Linked DNA regions of Homo sapiens: all the other regions are linked to region 1. Evidence: promoter capture Hi-C in 16 types of primary human blood cells and fetal thymus (Javierre and others, 2016). All regions are on one chromosome and are shown on one strand. Each heading gives the region's core, a stretch centred on a gene start or on the middle of the fragment in contact. The rest is flanking DNA. Distances are from core to core; before and after follow the strand shown. Region 1 holds the start of ROCK2 (Rho associated coiled-coil containing protein kinase 2). Region 2 overlaps ROCK2 (Rho associated coiled-coil containing protein kinase 2). Region 3 overlaps E2F6 (E2F transcription factor 6). Region 4 overlaps LOC105373429 (a long non-coding RNA gene).

Evidence for each region. Contacts are between HindIII fragments. The CHiCAGO score rates a contact against its expected background, and 5 or more counts as called.
Region 2: a fragment that was not itself captured here is called in contact with the fragment with the promoter of ROCK2 in region 1 in 1 of 17 cell types (megakaryocytes); the score reaches 5.4 in megakaryocytes.
Region 3: a fragment that was not itself captured here is called in contact with the fragment with the promoter of ROCK2 in region 1 in 1 of 17 cell types (megakaryocytes); the score reaches 5.2 in megakaryocytes.
Region 4: a contact is called between a fragment that was not itself captured here and the fragment with the promoter of ROCK2 in region 1, in 1 of 17 cell types (megakaryocytes). The highest score is 6.3, in megakaryocytes.

Annotation. Positions count from the first base shown.
Region 1 is chr2:11,343,201-11,346,118 of GRCh38, forward strand. It overlaps ROCK2 (Rho associated coiled-coil containing protein kinase 2), which reads right to left and starts at 1,436. Exons shown (of 33, transcript NM_004850.5): 1 at 796-1,436. The coding sequence starts at 936. LOC124907733 (a long non-coding RNA gene) reads left to right here and starts at 2,312. Exons shown (of 2, transcript XR_007086216.1): 1 at 2,312-2,489. RefSeq lists silencers at 751-1,480, 1,621-1,690, 1,761-1,920. The HindIII fragment of the contact is 12,622 bases long and covers 1-2,918 here.
Region 2 is chr2:11,244,615-11,247,532 of GRCh38, forward strand. The region is part of intron 4 of ROCK2 (Rho associated coiled-coil containing protein kinase 2); the gene reads right to left. Among named protein-coding and RNA genes, the nearest start is that of SLC66A3, 91 kb to the left of the region's middle. The HindIII fragment of the contact is 2,340 bases long and covers 186-2,525 here.
Region 3 is chr2:11,441,787-11,444,704 of GRCh38, forward strand. E2F6 (E2F transcription factor 6) reads right to left here. Exons shown (of 7, transcript NM_198256.4): 7 at 2,589-2,918. Among named protein-coding and RNA genes, the nearest start is that of E2F6, 23 kb to the right of the region's middle. The HindIII fragment of the contact is 7,403 bases long and covers 1-2,918 here.
Region 4 is chr2:11,415,729-11,418,646 of GRCh38, forward strand. The region is part of intron 2 of LOC105373429 (a long non-coding RNA gene); the gene reads left to right. Among named protein-coding and RNA genes, the nearest start is that of LINC00570, 23 kb to the left of the region's middle. The HindIII fragment of the contact is 2,019 bases long and covers 393-2,411 here.

The DNA of each region.
Region 1 (2,918 bases), core at 186-2,685:
ACAATCATCTATCCTAACAAAAATAAGAAATAAGCCAGCATTCTACGGTGCATTTCTATTTTGTAAAACATGCTCCTTTCTTAACCAAGAGCCAATTAGCAGCCTTTACGGTGCTATTAATCTGGATTTCAAAGGTCGTTATAGGAAAGAGACGCAATGAAGAGGACAGATTTATTCCACTCCACAATTCAGACTGATTTTTTGGCTCTGGCGCAATAATCTCAGGGAATTAAATTTACAGCAATTAAAATGCACTAAATAGCAAGTATGGAATGCTCAAACGCAAGTGAAAACAGCAAAACTTTAGCTGTGTGTTCCAAGATTTCAGACTAAAAGGAGAGAGTGAGGGCGGCTCTTTGTCATGTACCCCAGTGAGTACTCGCAACAGGGACAGCATCAGGTTTCTTTCTCCCTCGCTCGCACCAAGTCCCCACGTAGCATGACACTTTCAAATCAGCTAACCTGGTGTATGAAGCATGGCCAGTCCTCCACCCACCTCCCCAGAGTGGGCAGGCGGAAGGAGAAGAGGGGTGTTTTCCTCCCAGTGCTGCAAGAAAGGAGCAGCCGGGGATGACACTGGCTCCAGCAGGAGGTAGAGGGAGGAATCAAAGGCGGGTCACTACTCTTGGAACTCGGTGACAGAATCGTTTGGTCTCCGGCCCCGGCTGCCGGAAGCAGGGCGGGGTGGGGCAAGACCTCCCCCTCCCCACGGGCGGACGGGCACGGAGGGCTGGGCGGAGAGGGGATCTGAGGTGTGAGCTGCAACGAGCAAGCTCCCAGGCCCCGGCCACCTACCAGCAAGCTCTCCACGTTGATGGGGGAGCGAGGGTCTCGGATCAGCGCCTCCAGCTTCCTCTGGCGGCTCGCGCCTGCCCCGTCCCCCGGCGCGGTCTCGGGGGCGCCGGGCATTTTCCCCGTCGGCGGGGGCCGGCTCATGCCGCCACCGCTGGACCCGCACTCAGGCTCCTCGCGCTCAGGTCCCGCAGCCTCGGGGCCTAGCACCGCCCCCGAACCACCAGCTCCGGCCGGGACTCCACCCGGGCCCACCGCCTGCCTCTAGCTCCGGCTTCGGGTCTCCAAGGCGGTCCCCCGCCTGGGGGCTGCTCCCAGGGGCCCGCCCGGCCCAGCCCGGCCCAGCCCGGCCCGGCCCTGCCGGGAGCGGCGGGGAACAGACGGCGTCCCCGCCCCTCAGTCAGATTCGCGCCGCCGGTCCGCTGGTCCTCAGCGAGTGCCCGCAGGAGTCCTCGGGCGGGAGCAGGGAAGTGGCGCCGCCACCGCCGCGGCCCGGACCGCCCCGCCCTCTGGGGCCCCGGGAGGCTGAAGCCCAGGCCTGGGCCACTACGGCCGCCGCCGGCCCGCTGCCATGGTCGCCGCCGGCCGCCTTGCAGTCCCTCAGCCAGCTCCCGGCGCACACACTCCCGCGCGGCCGCCCGTCTCCGGCCGCGCGCCGCCGCTACCCACAAGCCCCTCCGCCCGCAGCCGCCGGCGCGCGTCCCCGCCGGCCCTGCGCGCGCTCCGCCCCGCCCCGCCCCGCGCACCGCGCTTCCTCCCTTTCTTTCCCTTCCTGCGTCTGTCCCGCTCCGCTTTCTCCTCTGCGCCCCTTCCTCGCCCGCCCTCGCCTCCTCCCCCTGGCGAGGTTCTCTGAGGCGAATAGCCGGGCGCGCGGTCACGGCCGAGCTCCTGCTGGGGGAGGGGAGACGCACCCAGGCCGGGTCCTTCCGCGCGCCCCCTGCCCCTCCCGCCGGACCCCGCGGACTACCCCGCGGCCCCGAGGCGGAACCCCAGACGCCGGGCCCAGCGCACCGTGCGCTGGGGGGGAGCCCGGCCGCGCCCCCCGCCGCGGCCCCCGCTGACTCAGCGCGCAGCTATGCGGGCCTCGCCTCACCCGCGCCCAAATAATAGCGACCGAGCTCGGCGCCCGCGAGGGGCCGCAGGGCCGGGGGTTTCGAGGCGAGCCTGAGAGGGGGCCCTGGGTGTCTGGGATTCCGAATTAGCGGAGGCGGGTGGAATCCTAGTCCTGGGGCAGGAGGGCCTGGGATCCTGAAAGCGTTTCTGCCCGGCTTAGACACTAACCACTTCAAGAGAACGGGAGAGCACCGGAAAAAGGCTTTCCAGCCGCAGGCCTTCGCGGGGTCTTCTCCTTTTGGGGGGCGGAAGAGGGGTGGTTATCGGGACCGTTCCGCCGCATTCCTGCCCTCTCGGCGGCCGGTGCCATCGCTTAGATCCGCCCAGGGCGCAATCCGAAAATTATGTGCCAAGAGCTATAAAACCGTTCATAGAGCCCCTTTGACCCAGTAAACCCATTTAAGGAAGTACATTTCCAAGGAAATGATCCAAAGGGCGAAGAAGGGGGAGAACTTGCAGAAAGATGTTAACAGCAGGGCTATTCACAATGTTCGTGATGACCAAAACCTGGGAATGGGCCCAGTTGTCCAACAATTGAGTAACCCAAACAGGCGCCTTCACATTAACAGCAAGAATCCTGGCAGGTATGCAGACTGTGTCAAACATGAAATTTTGGCAAGTACATGAGAAGGTATATTAGAAATAAATGAAACAAAAAAAATCGTTTGTACACACTAAAACTATGTAAAATGAGCAGCTATAAGAACCAGAGAATACAGTACTTCTTAAATAAATGGGATTTTTTTCTGTAAAGATACTTAAGAACAAATTAAATTTCAAAAAATGGAAAAACCACTCCGAAAAGCAACAATCTGATATCCATTAAGTAATAAGAATGTTAAGAACTGTCTCCCTGGCATGTCAGAGATAAACCCGAAGATAGGGTGAAGCCCCAGCCCTGTAAAAGTTGCATTTTGATCCAAACCATTGGATTAGTTGGAGCCTCTTCTTTGGTTTTAGGTTAGTTAAAACCACCCCTAGCTGGACTCATGCAGGAAGAGGCCCCGATGATC
Region 2 (2,918 bases), core at 106-2,605, 99 kb before region 1:
CAGGGCATGGTGGTACATGCCTGCAGTACCAGCTACTTGGGAAACTGAGGTGAGAGGATTGTTTGTGCCCAGGAGTTTGAGGGTGCAGTGAGCCATGACCTTGCCACTGTACTAAATACAGCCTGGGCAACAGAGTGAGATCCTGTCTCTAGAAAAAAGAAAAAAAAAAGAATTTTTTTCTAGAAAGCTTTGCAAGTAAGTTCATTCAAGCCTCATGAAATGAATAGTTTATATTTTATATAAACTGTATCAAAGCACAGAAAAAAGTAGTATGCTTCCCTATTATGTCTATTAGAGTAGTCTTACCGTAATAAGAAAACCAAGAGCCCATGTTTAAATAATTAAATTAAATTAAAGGTCAAATCTCATTATGCACATAGATGCAAAACTACTTAACAAAATATTAGTAAATCAAATTCAGTATCCCACTTTTAAAAATCACATTATTGCAAATAGCATTTACTTTAAATTTTACACTACTTTGAAATCTTTTTCAGTGCACTATAAAAGATTAGCATATTTCATTTGCTTACTAATTTATATTCCTTATACATTAGCAATGAAATTTATATTCCTTATACTTTGCTTGATGTATAAAATATAAATTATATTATAAATCATGTATTATTTATAAAATTATATTATAAATTTATAAAAATATAAATTATATTTTAGGCTTAATGTATAAGGAATATAAATTATTAATAAGCATATGAAAGATGCTGAATCTCGTAAGTAATCAAGGAAGTACAACTTAACACAGTTAACACCTTATTTCTCAAGCATGCAACTAGTAAAAATTTAAAATAGTTACAATATCAAGTATTTGCTAAAACTGTGGTGAAAGAGAACATCTATTGTACAAAGATAATGTAAACTTGTAAAGAAAAATTTTTTAACAAAGCAATCTGGTGCTATCAATCAAAATGTCAAATGTGCATACCATCTGACCTAGCAATCCCAATGCTAGGAATCTATTGTAAAGAAAAACTCACACATGTATAAAAGACAGACCTACAAGCACAGTTAATTACACATCAAGAGCAGCAAATGTTTAAGATAGGTCTGGAGCACCCTGTTACATCACATTGCAAGCAAGCTATCAAAGATTATTAAGGCTTCGTTAAAGGTTTCAGAAACCAACCTCATTCTGATCCCACTGGTCAAAGGTACCACAATTTGAGCATCAATAAGATATTCAAAGGACTGAAACATATCACACAGGTTTTAAGTCCATGAGTTCAAACTGATTCTCCCCCAAAATTGGTCACCCTTATTTTGAAAACTGGTAAATACAATAAAAGAATAAAGCATTTATCCTGTCCTTCCAGTGTGAACTGCACCCTGAGTAACTTAACAAGTAAACAGAGAAATATTTTTCTTCACAGAAGTATTCCAGTCACTATAACCAAGGAGGAATGATTGAACTGAAGTATCATTTGACAAATCTTAATAAATGATATATCAAGACACTGAGCACAAATAGCTGGTAACACACCAGATAACCAGACATTAGTCTTCTTATAGGTGGCCTATGAACCTGGCCTATGAAGTAGTCCTATACCGTCCCCTTCCAAAGTGGAACCTGAATCTGATCAAGCCTCTATATCTAACAACCAATTTACAAAAATACAAGTGAGAGAGAAACATGTTAAACTACACCACAAGAAGAGATCAGCAAAATCTAGGTTTCTTCAACCTGGGGACAAAAGTAAATGAAAGAAGAGGGAAACTCTCTACATTGAGAGATTTAAAAGATATACCTGAACTTAAATTTTTTTTTAATGCCAAAACTAAACTAAGGTGTTTAGGGGTACACATCTGGGTGATAAAACTACAAAGGAAAGCAAGGAAGCATTTGCCATAAAAATAACAACACTAGAAAAACACAGCAAACTGGATATATAAATGGCTTTAAAAAGACAAAGTCCTCTCTACCCGCAAATGAATAAAAGTTTTTAAAATATGTCAATATTTATCTATTGAATTCAGAAATCACCCTAATAATATATTTCTAAGAAATACAGATAGGCCCAAGATTTAACCTATTACTGTGGCTAATTTATATTAACAAAAATGAAAAGTGATATTTCTAACAAAAGTATAGTAACTGTGGGGGTATTAATACAATTAAATATTTAATAGTCATTTAAAAATAAGAGCTGAGATTTGGAAAACTGAAATAGTCCAATAAAATTAATTATAGGCATATCCAATGACTCATTAATTTCACTGCAATGTAGATTCCTAAAAGAAATGTGTGAACATATGTACCAAAATCCTTATGAAAGAACACTCAAAGCAGCATTATTCATTATAGTCAAAAAGGAGAAACAACACAAATGTCCATTAAGTGATGAATGAACGAAGTGTGGTACAACCATGTAACAGAATACTATTTAACCATAATAAGAAATTAAGTGTTGATACATGCTATAACATGAATGAATGAATGTCAAAACATTAGGCTAGGTGAAAGATGTCACAAAAGACATACATACATGTTGTGTGATTGATTTATAGGAAGCTTTCAGAATAGGCAAATCCATAAAGACATAAAATAGAATAGCAGTTGGCAGGGGCAGGGGGGCAGGTGGAATTGGGGGAATAAATGCTAATTGGTCCAGGGCTTCTTTGGAGGGTGAGAAAAATGTCCTAAAATTAGGTAATGGTGATGGTTGTACAACTCTGTGAAAATATTCAAAATCATTGAATAAAACAATAAATAAAAATAAGTCAGTCACTTTGACAAGTTTTCACAAAAGGTCAAACATTTTATACACATAAATATAATGGTGCATGGAATGTTGTTCTTTACCCAGAGAGATAAGCATATAAAGGCCACAATTATAATCGGATTTACTTTTTCAATTGTACTATGTTTCACTATTGGTTTGCTCCCTCAGATCCATTATCTC
Region 3 (2,918 bases), core at 162-2,661, 99 kb after region 1:
AGCCGATCCAAGGGGGAAGCCCCTTACAAAAGCATCGGATCTTGTGAGAACTTACTATCACGAGAACAGGATGGAGGAAACAGCCCCCATGATTCAATTTTCTCCATCTGGTCCCTCCCACAACATGTGGGGATTATGGGAACTATAATTCAAGATGAGATTGGGGTGAGAACACAGCCAAACCATATCATTCTGTCCCTGGCCCCTCCCAAATCTCATGTCCTCATAATTCCAAACATAACCCTGCCCTTCCAACAGTCACCCAAAGTCTTAGCTCATTCCAGCATTAACTCAAAACTCCAAGTCCAAAGTCTCATCTCAGACAAGGCAAGTCCCTTCCACCTATGGGCCTGTAAAACCAAAAGCAAGTTAGTTACTTCCTAGATACAATGGGGGTACAGGGATTGGGTAAATACACCCATTCCAAATGGGAGAAATTGGCCAAAACAAAGAGGCTACGGGTGCCATGCAAGTCCGAAATCCAATACGGCAGTCATTAAACCTTAAAGTTCCAAAATGATCTCCTTTGACTCCGTGTCTCCCATCCAGGTGATGTTGATGCAAGAGGTGGGCTCCCATGGCCTTGGGCAGCCCCACTCCTGTGGCTTTGCAGGGTATACCCCCACCCCCACCTTGGTTACTTTCACAGGCTGGTGTTGAGTGTCTGGGACTCTTCCGGGTGCACAGTGCAAGCTACCATTCTGGGGTCTGGAGGACGGTGGCCCTGTTCTCACAGCTCCACCAGGCAGTGCACCAATCGGGACTCTGTGTGGGGGATCCAACCCCGTATTTCCCTTCCACACTGCCCTAGCAGAGGTTCTCCAGAGAGCGAACTTCTGCCTGGACATCCAGGTGTTTCCATACATCCTCTGAAATCTAGGCAGAGGTTCCCAGACCTTAATTCTTGACTTCTGTGCACCCATAGGCCCAACACCATGTGTAAGCCAAGGCTTGGGGCTTGCACCCTCTGAAGCAACAGCCTGAGCTTTATGTTGGTCCCTTTTAGCCAAGGCTGGAGCTGAAGAAGCTAGGATGCAGGGCACCATGTCCCAATGCAGCATAGAGCGGGGGGTGGGGGGGGGGCCCTTATAGGCCCCCAGGCTTGTGATAGGAGGGGCTGCTGGAAGGTCTCTGACATGCCCTGGAGACATCTTCCCCATTCTCTTGGTGATTAACATTTGACGTTACTTATGCAAATTTCTGCAGCCAGCTTAAATTTCTCCCCAGAAAATGGAGTTTTCTTTTCTATCCCATCATCAGGCTGCAAAATTTTCCAAACTTTTATGCTCTGCTTCCTCTCGAACACTTTGCTGCTTAGAAATTTCTTCTGCCAGATACCCTAACTCATCTCTCTCAAAGTTCCATGCATCTCTACGGCAGAGGCAAAATGCTACCAGTCTCTTTCCATAGCAAGAGTGACCTTTACTCCCGCTTCCAATAGGTTCTTCATCTCCATCTTGACCACTTCAGCCTGGACTTCACTGTCCATATCACTATCAGCAATTTGTCAAAGCTATTCAACAAGTCTCTAGGAAGTTCTAAATGTTTCCCACATTTTCCTGTCTTCTTCTGAACCCTCCAAACTGTTCCAACCTCTGCCTGTTACTCAGTTCCAAAGTTGCTTCCACATTTTTGGGTATCTTTACAGCAGCACCCCACTCTCTGTGGTACCAATTTACTGTATTAGTCCATTCTCAAACTGCTAACAAAGACATACCCAAGGCTGGGTAATTTATAATGGAAACAGATTTAATTGACTCATAGTTCAGCATGGCTGGCTCAGGAAACTTACAATCATGGTGGAAGAGGAAGCAAATACGTCTTTCTTCATATGGTGGCAGGAGGGAGAATGAGAGCCGAGCGAAGGGAAAAGCCCTCTATTAAACCATTAGATCTCGTGAGAACTTACTATCACGAGAACAGGATGTAGGGAAACAGCTCCCATGATTCAGTTATCTCCACCTGGTCCCTCCCACGACACATGGGGATTATGGGAACTGCAATTCAAAATGAGATTTGGGTGGGGACACAGCCAAACCCTATCATACACTACATTAATATGAGAAATACCTATTAAGACATGAGCTTACACTCTGACAACATGGAATGGCAGCTGGGAACGTAGCCGCAGCAACTTATGAGGAAGGAAGATGGCCACCTGCGTGCTGTGTATAAACTGCATGCAGGGTAGGAGTAAAGGGGAGGCATGGGTGAAGCCAGGTCCAGAATAGGGATGCGATTTTGAAACACAGAGAACAGGAAGAGGATAGGATAAGAGCAAAGGCAGGGAGATGGGAAAGTTCACTGTGTGCTTCAGGTAGCGATGAGACCAATTTACTGGGGTGAAGGTCTGCAAGGCAGGTACCAAGGCAGGATTGGTAAGCAAGCCTTGGGCCCTTCTATATCCAGAGTCTGCACTTCGGCCTGAAGGAAACACGGATCGCTCAAGGTTTCTGAAGGAAGAAGCGGTGCGCACAGAGATGGGACAGTGAGGTTGGAAAGGTTAGGGTTAGTGAGGAGGAGGGGCCCAGAAACGAGTTCATGCTTATTTTATCCGTTTTAAGAATCAGAGACCCAACGCCAGAAGATGGAGTGACTCGAGAGATACTTCATTTATAACACACATCTGTAATTTACAAAGGATTTTCGTTTACATGATCTCATTTTACCTTCAGAACAATTTGTAAAGGAGAACATTTGCCACATTCACAAGTTAAGGAACTGCTGCTCAGAAATGATGGTATTACCTTTGGTAAAACCTTTGTTGGTTTTTGGGACACTGCCTTCTCCCTCCCCACCCGCCCCATTATTCCTTCTCAGGAGACTTCTTCTGTATTTCTCCTTAAATATAGATGCCCTTAGGCCTGCTGTACTCTTTAGATGACCTCTCCTACTCTTGTGGCTTAAACTATCGCATC
Region 4 (2,918 bases), core at 152-2,651, 72 kb after region 1:
GGGTTTTATGGATCCCTATGATTTCCTCTTTCTCATTATTCCATTTGGTCTTCCAAATGGAGAGGCTTACTAAAGATTACTTGACCAATTCCTGGATACTCTACGGCACAGTTGATTATTTTGTGCTTTTCTTTTCAGATGGGAATATAAAAATGACACTGGTTTAGGTTTTCATGTTGCTTTATAAAGCCTCCCTGGTATTAAGTAGTGAGGCATGTGGTACACTTCTGAACTAGTGTTTTTTTGTTTTTGTCTTTTAAAGTCTTTCAAATACAACTCTTAGACACTATAACAAGTTTAGGAGTATTTGGGTTTTCTCTTCCACAGTGATGTTCAGCAGAGGGGAAGGAAGATCTTAGCAATACTGTCAGTGGAGGGAAGGCTAAAGTGGAAGCTTATGCTTTTCAGCTTCTATGATTTGGATGATGAGATGGCCAGGTGATTCTAATCCAGAAGTGCTTTCTAATTTGTTGTAATTACTATTGCTGTGTAACCAATTATCCCTAAACTAAGCAGCTTATAACAACCATTTGACTACCCTCACAGATTCTGTGGTCAGAAATTGGACATGGCAGTGGGATGGCTTGGGAGCCTCAGCTGGGAAGACTTAATGGCTAAGAGTGACTCAAGAGCTGGGGGTTGGAATCCCAGGAGACATCACCACTTACTGTCTGGTGGTTGATCTGGCTGTTGGGCGGAACCTCACTCAGCCAGGGCTGTTGATTAGGGAACCCACATGTGGCCTTTCCAGAAGGCCTGGGCTTCCTCACAGTGTGGAGGTTCAAGGTAGTGGTACTTTTCATACGGAGACTCATGGCTCCAAAAGCATGAGCCCCAAGGAACAGGGAAGAAACTGCATTGCCTTTTTTTTTTTTTTTTTTTCTTTTTGAGATGGAGTCTCACACTCTCGCCCAGGCTGGAGTGCAATGGCGCGATCTCGGCTCACTGCAAGCTCCACCTCCCGGGTTCACGCCATTCTCCTGCCTCAGCCTCCCGAGTACCTGGGACTACAGGCACCCACCACCACGCCCAGCTAATTTTTTGCATTTTTAGTAGAGATGAAGTTTCACCATGTTAGCCAGGATGGTCTCGATCTCCTGACCCTGTGATCCACCCACCTCAGCCTCCCAAAGTGCTGGGATTACAGGCGTGAGGCACCGCGCCCGGCCATTGCCTTTTTTAAGGTAGCCTCAGAGAGCATCACTTCTGCACATTCTATCAGTTGCAAGCAAGTCCCAAGCCTGCCTAGATTCAAGGATCCAGGACATAGACCCTGCCTCTTGATGGAAGGGTGGCAAGGTCACATTGTAGGAGAAGATGTGGGATGGGAGATATTGCCACAGTCATCTATGGAAAATACCATCTGCCATTCTAGTGAGGATGTGTCACCTCTGGGCTTTACTAACATTAGTGAAGGGACGTGCTCATCTGCCAAATGCCGTTAAAGTATTGCTGGGGCTGTAGCTCATGGCCAGTTACAGCTGCTTGGGTTTGAATCAGATCTCTCAACCAACCAACCAACCAACCAACCAATGCAGGAACCAGCCTATCTACAGCAATACCCTCTAAGAGTCAAATACTGGGCCAAGAGCCAAGTATGAATTAAAAAGGCCCCTACCCTCAAGGATCACCTGAATCTTAAATGTTAGTGTACATAGAGCTAGCTGGAGTAAAAGTTTAAACTACAGATGCCTGTCTGCCTTCCTTCATTCTAATTCAGTTGTCAGTTCCAGCTGGAGCACAGGAATCTGCGTTGTAACAAGCCCGTAGGTGGTTCTAGCATAAGAGATCCGAGGGGGGCACTTTGAGACTCACTGATCAGCAGAACTAGTGCTTTGAGACTGGGCATGGTGGCTCACACCTGTAATCTTAACACTTTGGGAGGCTGAAGCAGGTGGGTCACTTCAGGTCAGGAGTTCAAGACCAGCCTGGTCAACGTGGTGAAGCCCCGTCTCTACTAAAAATATAAAAATTAGCCAGGCATGGTGGCACACACCTGTAATTCCAGCTACTCAGGAGGCTGAGGTGGAAGGATCGCTTGAACCTGGGAGGTGGAGTTTGCAATAAGCCAAGATCATGCCATTGCACTCCGGCCTGGGCAACAGAGTGAGACTCTGTCTCAAAAAACAAAACAAAACAAAACAAAACAAAACAAAACAAAACAAAACAAAACAAAACAAAAAAAACTAGTGCTTTGGTCCAGAGAGTGAGCTTGGGTGCTTTTCATAAGTCATTAGCTTTCAGTTTGCCTGGCTTCTCTCCTTGAATCTTACTAGCTGTGGTAGGTTAGATTGTTGTGCCCGTTTTTGATTTATAGCCCGGCAGCCTCAAAACCATCCTTTTTGCCTGCTAGTGAAAATGAATCTGGGCCTTTTACATATTTTTTTTCTTCGCTAGCTGGCACAATTTTAAGCTTTGTCAGTAGAGGGCGCTAGAGAGATGCTGCAGACGAAAAACGGTTTGCTTCCTGGTTCCCACAGGCTTGACCCGCAGCCTGCTTTAAGGAGTGGCTTCTCCAGTGAACAGCTCCTAGAGCACACATAGCTTCTCAAGCACACAGCTCCTGCACAAACTGTGGTGCATCTATGCAGTGGAAAATTATTCAGCAACAAAAAAATGAGCTATCGAGCCACAAAAAGACATGGAAGAATCTTAAATGCATATTGCTAAGTTAAAGAAGCCAGTCTGAAAAGGTTACAATTGCATATCATTCTGGAAAAGGCAAAACTAGAGAGACAGTAAAAAGACCAGTGGTTGCCAGGAGTTAGGGGTAGGGAAGGGGAGATCAATAGGTGAAGCACAGGGGATTTTTAGGGTGGTGAAACTATTAGGTGTGATACTGTAGTGGTAGATACAAGACGTCATGCACTCAGCAAAACCTGTAGAGATGTACAACAGAAAGAGTGAATCCGAATGGA